2 separate regions of the Homo sapiens genome follow, and region 2 is linked to region 1. Evidence: promoter capture Hi-C in 16 types of primary human blood cells and fetal thymus (Javierre and others, 2016). All regions are on one chromosome and are shown on one strand. Each heading gives the region's core, a stretch centred on a gene start or on the middle of the fragment in contact. The rest is flanking DNA. Distances are from core to core; before and after follow the strand shown.

What was found. The method cuts DNA at HindIII sites, captures the fragments that hold promoters and counts their contacts. A CHiCAGO score of 5 or more calls a contact.
Region 2: a contact is called between a fragment that was not itself captured here and the fragment with the promoter of CLIC6 in region 1, in 1 of 17 cell types (naive B cells). The highest score is 7.0, in naive B cells.

The regions. Positions count from the first base shown.
Region 1 is chr21:34,667,375-34,671,797 of GRCh38, reverse strand. It overlaps CLIC6 (chloride intracellular channel 6), which reads right to left and starts at 2,804. Exons shown (of 6, transcript NM_053277.3): 1 at 1,036-2,804. The coding sequence starts at 2,409. RefSeq lists silencers at 1,092-1,171, 2,072-2,511. The HindIII fragment of the contact is 3,378 bases long and covers 596-3,973 here.
Region 2 is chr21:35,862,434-35,866,904 of GRCh38, reverse strand. No RefSeq gene overlaps it. Among named protein-coding and RNA genes, the nearest start is that of LINC01436, 140 kb to the left of the region's middle. The HindIII fragment of the contact is 1,149 bases long and covers 2,579-3,727 here.

The DNA.
Region 1 (4,423 bases), core at 1,555-4,054:
GCATTTCCTTTTACTTATTAAAATGTGCTTGCATTTCAGCCAGAGAGATTTAGATGGTAACTGGTTTCTATAAGCCTGGAAGTATTTCTGAAGGATTATGATTCAACATGAAATGCACATTCTTGACCTTATTATCTCCAACTTTCCTGGGTCTGGCCAAAGGTCCTCAGAAAAGGCTTTTTAAACAAAGATCCTGGTGTGAACTGCTGCTGAGCTTTGTTCTTTCATTTTTCATGCCTTGTAAATAATTCCTGTTTAAATTCAAAACTTCCTCAGTTGTGTCTCTACAGATTCCTTCACAGAATCCTTGCTCTCTTCCCATGTGAACTGAGGTTAAAAACATGACATACAAGCAGATGATGTTCAAGTCACCGGCATCTTGTATTCTTCCAAATTCAATGTTAAAACGTTCAAAAAACATTATGTCAATAAGGCTCCATTCCCCCCTAAACGTACATTGTTGATTCTACCAAAATGGAATACCTTTTTGGAGTTGAAAACATTGACCAGCTCTGGGTCTCCGAGATTGAGTCTGGAAGGCACCTCCCACATTGAACCTACCTGTCTGCGTTTTTTGGCTTCAAGTATTAAAGCTTCCTTTGGCAGAAATCCCTTTGAACACCAATAGGGTGCGTTGCTTTTCTTCTTCTTCTTCTTTTTTTTTTTTTTTTTTTTTAACTTTTTAGTTAATTCGTTAATAACCTCCTGACTAGGAGGGCTGGTTAGGATGTTCAGGTCAAAGGACAGTGGGATGCTGAACCCACAACCCCACATCCTCATTGGCCCCCATCGCACTCCCCGTCGCCCCCACCCCCAAAGTCTTTGCTTCCAAACCATTGAGTCCTCCCGCAAATGCCCTGGAAACTCTTCTCCGGGAAATCCCGGCTGTCCCGCCTACCGCCCGCGCATGGAAGCGCCTGATGACAATCAGGATACCACCAAGGGTTCCTCCCTGCGCGTCCCTCTGGGATCTGAGATGACCAAGACCTCGAATGGAAGGGGGTCGTCCTAAGAATTGAGGGAAGCGAGCTTTACCTTGACGAAGAGGGTGATGTCGTGCTCCTGCCCCAGGGCCCGGGGCTCGGACGCCTCTCCGTCCTCCCGGCGGCCGTTCACGCGCGCGGCCTCGCCGCTACCCTCGGCGGGGCCCTCCTCGGCCAGGTGGTTGCTGAGCTGGGCCTCAGGCTCCGCGGCGCCCCTGGAGGCCTCCCCATGTGGGCTGCTGTCGGGGGATTCCTCTTCGCCCCCCGCTGCTTCCTCCTCCCTTGGCCCCTCCGGGCTCCGCTCTCGTCTCTCTTCGTCCTCCCCCGGCTCCTGCTGTGGCCCATCCCCTACCCTGTCCTCGCCAGCGTCTGCCCTTGCGTCCCCGGGGGCCGCTTCTTCGGACCCCTTTACCCCCGGGACCTCCGCCTCCTCCGCTGCGTCCCAGGCGAGCTCACCGGGGCTGCGCCCCGCACTCTCCCCGGCTGCGACCTCAATTGCCTCGGCCTGGGGCGAGAGGCTGCCGTCCCCCGATTGCTGCGGCTCACCCGAGACCCGGCGCGCCCTTCCTGCCGGACCCTCGGCGTCCATGCTGTCCCCCGCCGGGCCTTCGGCTTCTACGCTGTCCCCCGCCGGGACCCCCGCTTCTACGCCGTCCCCCGCCGGGTCCCCCGCCTCTACGCTGTCCCCCACCCGGCCCTCCGCGTCTACGCTGTCCCCCGCCGGACCTTCCGCGTCTACGCTGTCCCCCACCCGGCCCTCCGCGTCTACGCTGTCCCCCGCCGGGCCCTCGGCTTGTATGTTGTCCCCCAGCGGGCCCTCCGCGTCTACGCTGTCCCCCGCCGGACCTTCCGCGTCTACGCTGTCCCCCACCCGGCCCTCCGCCTCTACGCTGTCGCCCGCCGGGCCCTCCGCTTCTATGTTGTCCCCCAGCGGGCCCTCCGCGTCTACGCTGTCCCCCGCCTCCCCGGACGCGCTACCTTCCGGGACCTCAGGCCTCTGCTCCGCCTCCTCCTGCCTCTCGGGGGCCGCAGAGTCCTCGGGCTCCCTCTGAGCCTCCCCGCGGGGCTCGCCCTGCGCGCCGCGTCCCGGGCTCGCCCCCTCCACCTGCTGCGCGCCGCTTGTCTCCTCCCCTCCTTGGGGCACCTCGGCACCCTCCGGGGCTCCCTCCTCGGCCTCAGTCTCGCCGTGCGCCCCCCTCGTGCCCCGCGCCTCGGCCTCCGGGCCCCTGTCTGGCCCGCCGCCTCCTGCCTCCTTCACAGCGGCGGCGCCCCTCGGCGCCTCCTCTGCGCCCTCGCTCCCCTCCGGCCCTTCTGCCTCCCCGCCCGCGGCTCCTGGCTCTCCGGGTCTCTCAGCCAGAGGCGCGGGGACCTCCGGCGGCCCCTGGGGACCCGGGGCAACCCCCTCCGGCTCCGCGGCCTCGGCCATGGCCGCAGATCCCTGTCCTTGATCGGGACTCCTTCCTTGACGCTGCTTAAGGGTCGGTGGCGCTGGGCAAGGGGCGTGCTACGGGGCCCTCTGTGCTCCTTGAAGGACGCCGGCTCCGGGATCCTGCGGCAAAGGTTTAGCCGGGGCACTGGGGCCTTGCGCAGGACCCGCAGGGCAAACTCCGCTTGGCCCCAAGCCTCTGCGCCCCTTCTGCCCAGCTGAAACTCCCTGGACTCTTCCTCCACTGCTGGAGCTTCTCCCCGATTGCGCGTCTGCTTCCCACCGGGACCCCAATCTCGCCCGCGGGCCGCGGAGGTGCAGTGCACGGCTGGAGAGGGCTGCTTCGCTCCTGCGCCTTTGGAAGTGCCCGGCCCGCTGTCCGCTGTCCTGGGGTTGACCAGAAGTCCTTGGTGCCAACTCCATCCCCTGGGGCTTGGGCGGGGTTTGTCTTCCCCTCCTCCCTCCTTTGTTTGGGTAGCCTAGGAGCTTGGCCAATGACAGCCTTTCTCGTGACCCTTGTGGATGTTGATGAAAAGATTCTGGTTCTCCTGGCCGCTTGGGTGTTGTTCTCTAGAATGGCTTCAAGTTCCAGAGTCACTTAAATCACCCCCTCCAAACACACACCCCGACACCCAAACACCTAATCCCCACCTTACCCCAGGAGTGAAGCATCAAGCTCCCCCGGTACCCAACTGAAGATGTCCACATTGTGCCTGATGTCCAAGAGCAAGGGTGTAAATCCCTGAGAGAAGAAGCTGGGGAGGCTACGCTGGCCGCCTTCCCATGTCTGCAGGGCCCCCGGAGAGGTTCCAGAGGCCCCTCATATAGACGCACAAGGAGCCAGTCGAGTTTCTCTGACCAGAGATGGGCGCTGTTGTCCATGAGGGTCCGCTTCTCCGGGCCTGTCTGGAGGATCGTGGGAGCCCTGCGCTGGAAAAAGGTTACACCTTCATCTCCCGGGTCTCTTAAGACTGTAAGAGTCTGTGTATCTTGCTGATTCTCCTAGATTTCTAAACTCACCACCAGTGCTTCTGCCTCCAAGTTAAGAGCTTGGGAATCTGGAGGTGGAGAAAAGAAAATCCAAGATGTGAAAGAGGGGAGCTATGGAATTCCCTGGGTTAGGGTTCTCCCAGGATCACAGACCCAATACCTACTTTAAAAAGGAAGTTATTATGGTGAAAAGTATGTCGTAAGTTTATTATAAGCCAGGCTACTTCTAGTGGGTTACCAAGAAACTGGGTTACCCAAGGTGGCACTATGTAAATGTGGTGGAACGGGGATCCCAGCTCAAGACTGACTTGATTCATCAGGCTTTATATGGCTTTGATATTGGCCTAAGATACATGAGCCCCTCATGCCCACAGAAGGTTGTTTTCGTTGAAAGAGCTGGGTGTGCCTTTGATGTGGCTTGGGGTCACACCTTTGGCCATGAACATAATGTGTCTCCTTCTACTTCCCATTGCTCATCACTGATGGATGACAGGACAGGAGCCCAGAGACACTCAGCTTCATGCTACCTTTCTCCAAGGCTGTGCTCTGTCTGGGTAGGTACAGGCCAGAAGCTTCATCACCACAAAGTGGCATCTAGTCAAAGCATGACACTCACACAGGTGAGCCAGAGATGCACGTGAGCCGTAAAAGCTCTAGGCACCTAGAAAAGGAATCCTGCTGCATTCACCGGGGCAAGGTAGCAGCCATCACCCTTATCTTGTAAAGAAAGATGAAGCCAGCACGTTCAGCCCGGAACAGCAAACACAGTACAGGTTTACAGTGCTTTATGCAAATCCCATGAGCCCGGATGTGTTTCAGAAAACAGAATTGTTAGAAAGATGATTGAGTGATTTTACTGTATATTACATAACACAGAACATCACTTTGTGATCAAACACATTAATATTTCTGCAGTAAGACAGGCATCACATTTGGTGAGATATGGTAAAATCATACAAGCTTCAGGCCCCCCACCCCCAGTTTAGGTTCACCTCCAGCTGAGTTCAAGCCTTTCTGGTTCTGA
Region 2 (4,471 bases), core at 1,904-4,403, 1.2 Mb before region 1:
AATTTTTGTATTTTTAGTATAGACAGGGTTTCATCATGTTGGCCAGGCTAGTCTCGAACTCCTGACCCTGACCTCAGGTGATCTGCCCGCCTCGGCCTCCCAAAGTGCTGGTATTATAGGCATGAGCTACCACGACCCGCCTTTTTTTTTTTGGAATGTTTGTAAAGAAGTAATTCTGGGTGGATTCAGAAATGTGCTTTCAAATACTCTGGGGGTCATGAAATTTAAAGGGGCAGTAAGACTTCTTTTTTCTTTTTTTCTTTTTTCTTTTTTTAGACAGGGTCTTGCTCTGTCACTCAGGCTAGAGTGCAGTGGTGTGATCATGGCTTACTGCAGGTTCAATCTCCTGGGCTCAGTCGATCCTCCCACCTCAGCCTCCTGAGTAGCTGGCACCACAGGTGTGTACCACCACACCTGGCTAATTTTTAAATTTTTTTACAGAAACAGGGTCTCCCAGTGTTGCCAGGGCTGGTGTTAACTTTTGGCTTCAAGGAATCCTCCCTTGAAGGCCTCCCAAAGTACTGAGATTACAGGCGGGAGTCCCCGTGCCCAGCTTGGGCAGCAAGACTTCTTAGTTAGGGTCTCATGATTGGAGGGTCCCTGGAGGGCAGGCAGGATGGTATTAGGGTGGGCACAGGGATCATTTAAGATGGTATCTGGTTCTGAACTCATATTTGACTGGTCGATCAACAAGTTACCTTGTAAAATTTTCATTTATAAAATTTTAGCATATAAGCTCATTGTATCTGTGACTAGGGACTTAAGTGTCTTCACATACACAGGCTCTAAAATGTCTGGGTTGATCAGATTTTGCATGATCTGTTTTTTTGCTTTGTAGTTTACTGTACATGATTTTATGAAGACTTTACTATTAGGACCTGCCTATGATACTGGGATACTTTTTTCTTTCTCCATTCATTTGCCCACTCACTCACTTGCTTGGGCAATTGATAGCTCACTCACTCCTAGATTGATTGAGTCATTTAATCTATATGAATAATACATGAAAAGTTGCTAGTATAAATGCAAACAGAACAAAAATATATTGAGCAAAACATAAACCTGCTCCTGTACTGAGTCTCCTGGTTCCCTCCCCCTCTTACTCCTGGCCCCTCAGTGCCACCCACCATTCAGAGTTGGTGGTTTGGTATGAAAGTTTCAAGACTTCTAGACATTTCTTTTTGTAGATGTCTATCATAAGGGTTTCACCATGTGGTATCCCTAATCGTAATGGATTCACTTTTTTTGAAAATCTTTTAAAAATAACATTTTTTTCATTTTTATCATTTTTGAAAAAAACCCCATCAAAAAGTGGGCAAAGGATATGAACAGACACTTCTCAAAAGAAGACATTTATGCAGCCAACAGACATGAAAAAATGTTCATCATCACTGGCCATCAGAGAAATGCAAATCAAAACCACAATGAGATACCATCTCACGCCAGTTAGAATGGCAATCATTAAAAGTCAGGAAACAACATGCTGGAGAGGATGTGGAAAAATAGGAATGCTTTTACACTGTTGGTGGGAGTGTAAATTAGTTCAACCATTGTGGAAGACAGTGCAGTGATTCCTCAGGGATCTAGAACTAGAAATACTACATGACCCAGCGATCCCATTAGTGGGTATATACCCAAAGGATTATAAATCATGCTACTATAAAGACACATGCACACGTATGTTTATTGCGGCACTATTCACAATAACAAAGACTTGGAACCAACCTAAATGTCCATCTATGATAGACTGGATTAAGAAAATGTGGCACATATACACCATGGAATACCATGCAACCATAAAAAAGGATAAGTTCATGTCCTTTGCAGGGATGTGAATGAAGCTGGAAACCATAATTCTAAGCCAACTATCACAAGTACAGAAAACCAAACACCACATGTTCTCATCATAGGTGGGAGTTGAACAACGAGAACACATGGACACAGGGTAGGGAACATCACACACCAGGGCCTGTCGGGGGGTAGGGGGCTGGGGGAGGGATAGCATTAGGAGAAATACCTAATGTAAATGACAGGTTGATGGGTGCAGCAAACCACCATGGCACATGTATACCTACGTAACAAACCTGCACGTTCTGCACATGTACCCTAGAACTTAAAGTATAATGATAATAAAATAACAATTGTTTTACTTTTAAATTCATTTTTAGACCATTTTATTTTACTAGAATTTTGTCAGTTACTCTAGAAATTTCCTTGCTTTTGCCCAAAGTAATCACTATCCTGGCTATTATATTGATAAATCCTTTGCATCTTTTTGTATTAATTAAAAACACGTAGCTCTAAATGCTGTAGTTTTTCCCATTAAAAAAGCCTATATGTGTGTGTGTAAAATTTTAATACATAATTTTATATATGTCTTTCTGTCTGTCTGCTGTCTCTTAGCTTACAGGTTTTCCTCCATCTATTTTTCTTACAGTTTATGTATTGAAGAACCTGGGCCGTTTGACCCACGGAGTGGTTCTCAATCTGGATTTGGCTGATTGGGCACTCATGTTGCAGGTTAACATGCTCCTCGGTTTTCTGACCTCCTAGAAGTTGGCAGCTGGATCCAGAAGCTTCAACAGCCTCAGGTTCAGCCTCCTGGGCTGGCGGATTGTAGGTGAGTCTGTGTTCTTTCACATGCCTGTTGGCTCCTTGTTTTTGATGTTGGCAGATGTGATGCACATTGCCTAGATCCATTCTTTCACTGCAGGGTGCAGACTGTTGATTTCTGATTCTGTCACTCTGCTTTGATTTATTAGCTGTAATGATTTTATTAGAAAATTCTTTCTTTCATCTACTAGTTGGTTATTTACTGGCTTAGTTCATAAGGAATCTAAAATAAATGTTTTACGTTTTCCTTGTATTTACTAAGTTTTCAAGATAATGCTGTTGACTTTCAAAAGTTTATCAAGTAGGTTTGAAAAAATACCTTTATGAACTCATGGGTTTAAACTTATTTGATCAGTTTTAATCCATTGCAATTCTCATCTTTATGAGAGTTCAAATTGCCCCATCCTTGACCAGAGGGAGATCTTCAGGTTGAGCTACTTTGACCAGTGGCTGTTGAGTCTTTTTTTTTTTTTTTTTTTTTTTTGTTTGTTTGAGACAGGGGGTCTTGTTCTCTCACCCTGGCTGGAGTGCAGTGACGTGATTTTGGCTCACTGTAGCCTTGACCTCCTGGGCTCAAGCAATCCTCCTGCCTCAGCCTCCTGAGTAGGTGGGACTACAGTTGTGCGCCACCATGCCTGGTTAATTTTTTATTTTTTGTAGATCCAGGGTTTTCCCTTGTTGCTTAGGCTCATCCCCAACTTCTGGGCTCAAGTGATCTTCCTGCCTCAGCCTCCCAAAATGCTGGGATTATAGGCATGAGCCTAATTAATATGGGATATTAATTATCAATCTAGAAAGACATAAATGTATTGCTTGGAAAGAAGAAAGGATCCATTGACAAAGAAGAGATACAAAGATTTGATCTTGATTTATCTCAGGTAGATGTCAACTTCTGCCATATTTTCTTGATCATTAACTGAGACCTCATCCCTCTTCTTCCCCTACTTTTTTCCTTTAAAGCCAAATAAAAATAAACAGAACTAGTATTATTTTGCATTGAGTATCCCAAGTAGATTTAGAATGTTGGTTTCAAAGTAAATAAACAAGAGACGGATGCAATGGAATTTCATAACCATGATGGACTTTGGGGTGTAATAATTTTCTTAGGCAAGCTTATAAAAACAGTGTTTTCTCCCTGTAGTCTGTCCTTAGGGACTAATGTTCTAAAAAGAGAGAACAATTTTCCAGTAAAATTAACTCTGTGAAGATTTTATGGATTTTAAAGACATACCACTTTGTGTGTGTGTGTGCAAGGCTCTTATAGACAGGCTGCTGTGTAGCAGTGGGGACCTCCATGGTGAGTTATGTTCTTGTCCTTATGTCATGGGAGCAGGTAGACATAAATACTTTCATGCATGGAGCTTCTGGATCCTTTGTCTAAAATTCTGCCATCTTTTCTAATAGATTGCAAGTTCTCTTTAAAAGTGGAAACACCCCTTAAAGATATGAAGCAAATCTTCATCATTTGGAAGGCAGTATATAACTCACAAATGGGTTGTCTTCAAAGGTTGTTTATAAGGCACTGGCTTGAAACTGCATTTATCTATGGACCTATGATAGGTTCTTAAGGCAGCAGATTAACACTTACCAAGCCCACCATATTCATTTTGGTAGCACTGAAGCAATACTATAGACCCTAGCACCAGGCGTGACTGTGTTCTGGAGCAGTGGTTCTCAACCAGGCCATTGAAGGCAATTTCTTAAAAGCCCTGCCGGCCTGGGTACCTCACACCACTCCTGCACTAACCTACTTAGAGTGTGGCTCTTTGCAGCTTACTCCTGTGCTCAAGGTCATGAATGCTCCTTACTCTCAAACAGAGGCCCACTCTTCAGGTAGTGTTCAAGGCCATCAGCCACA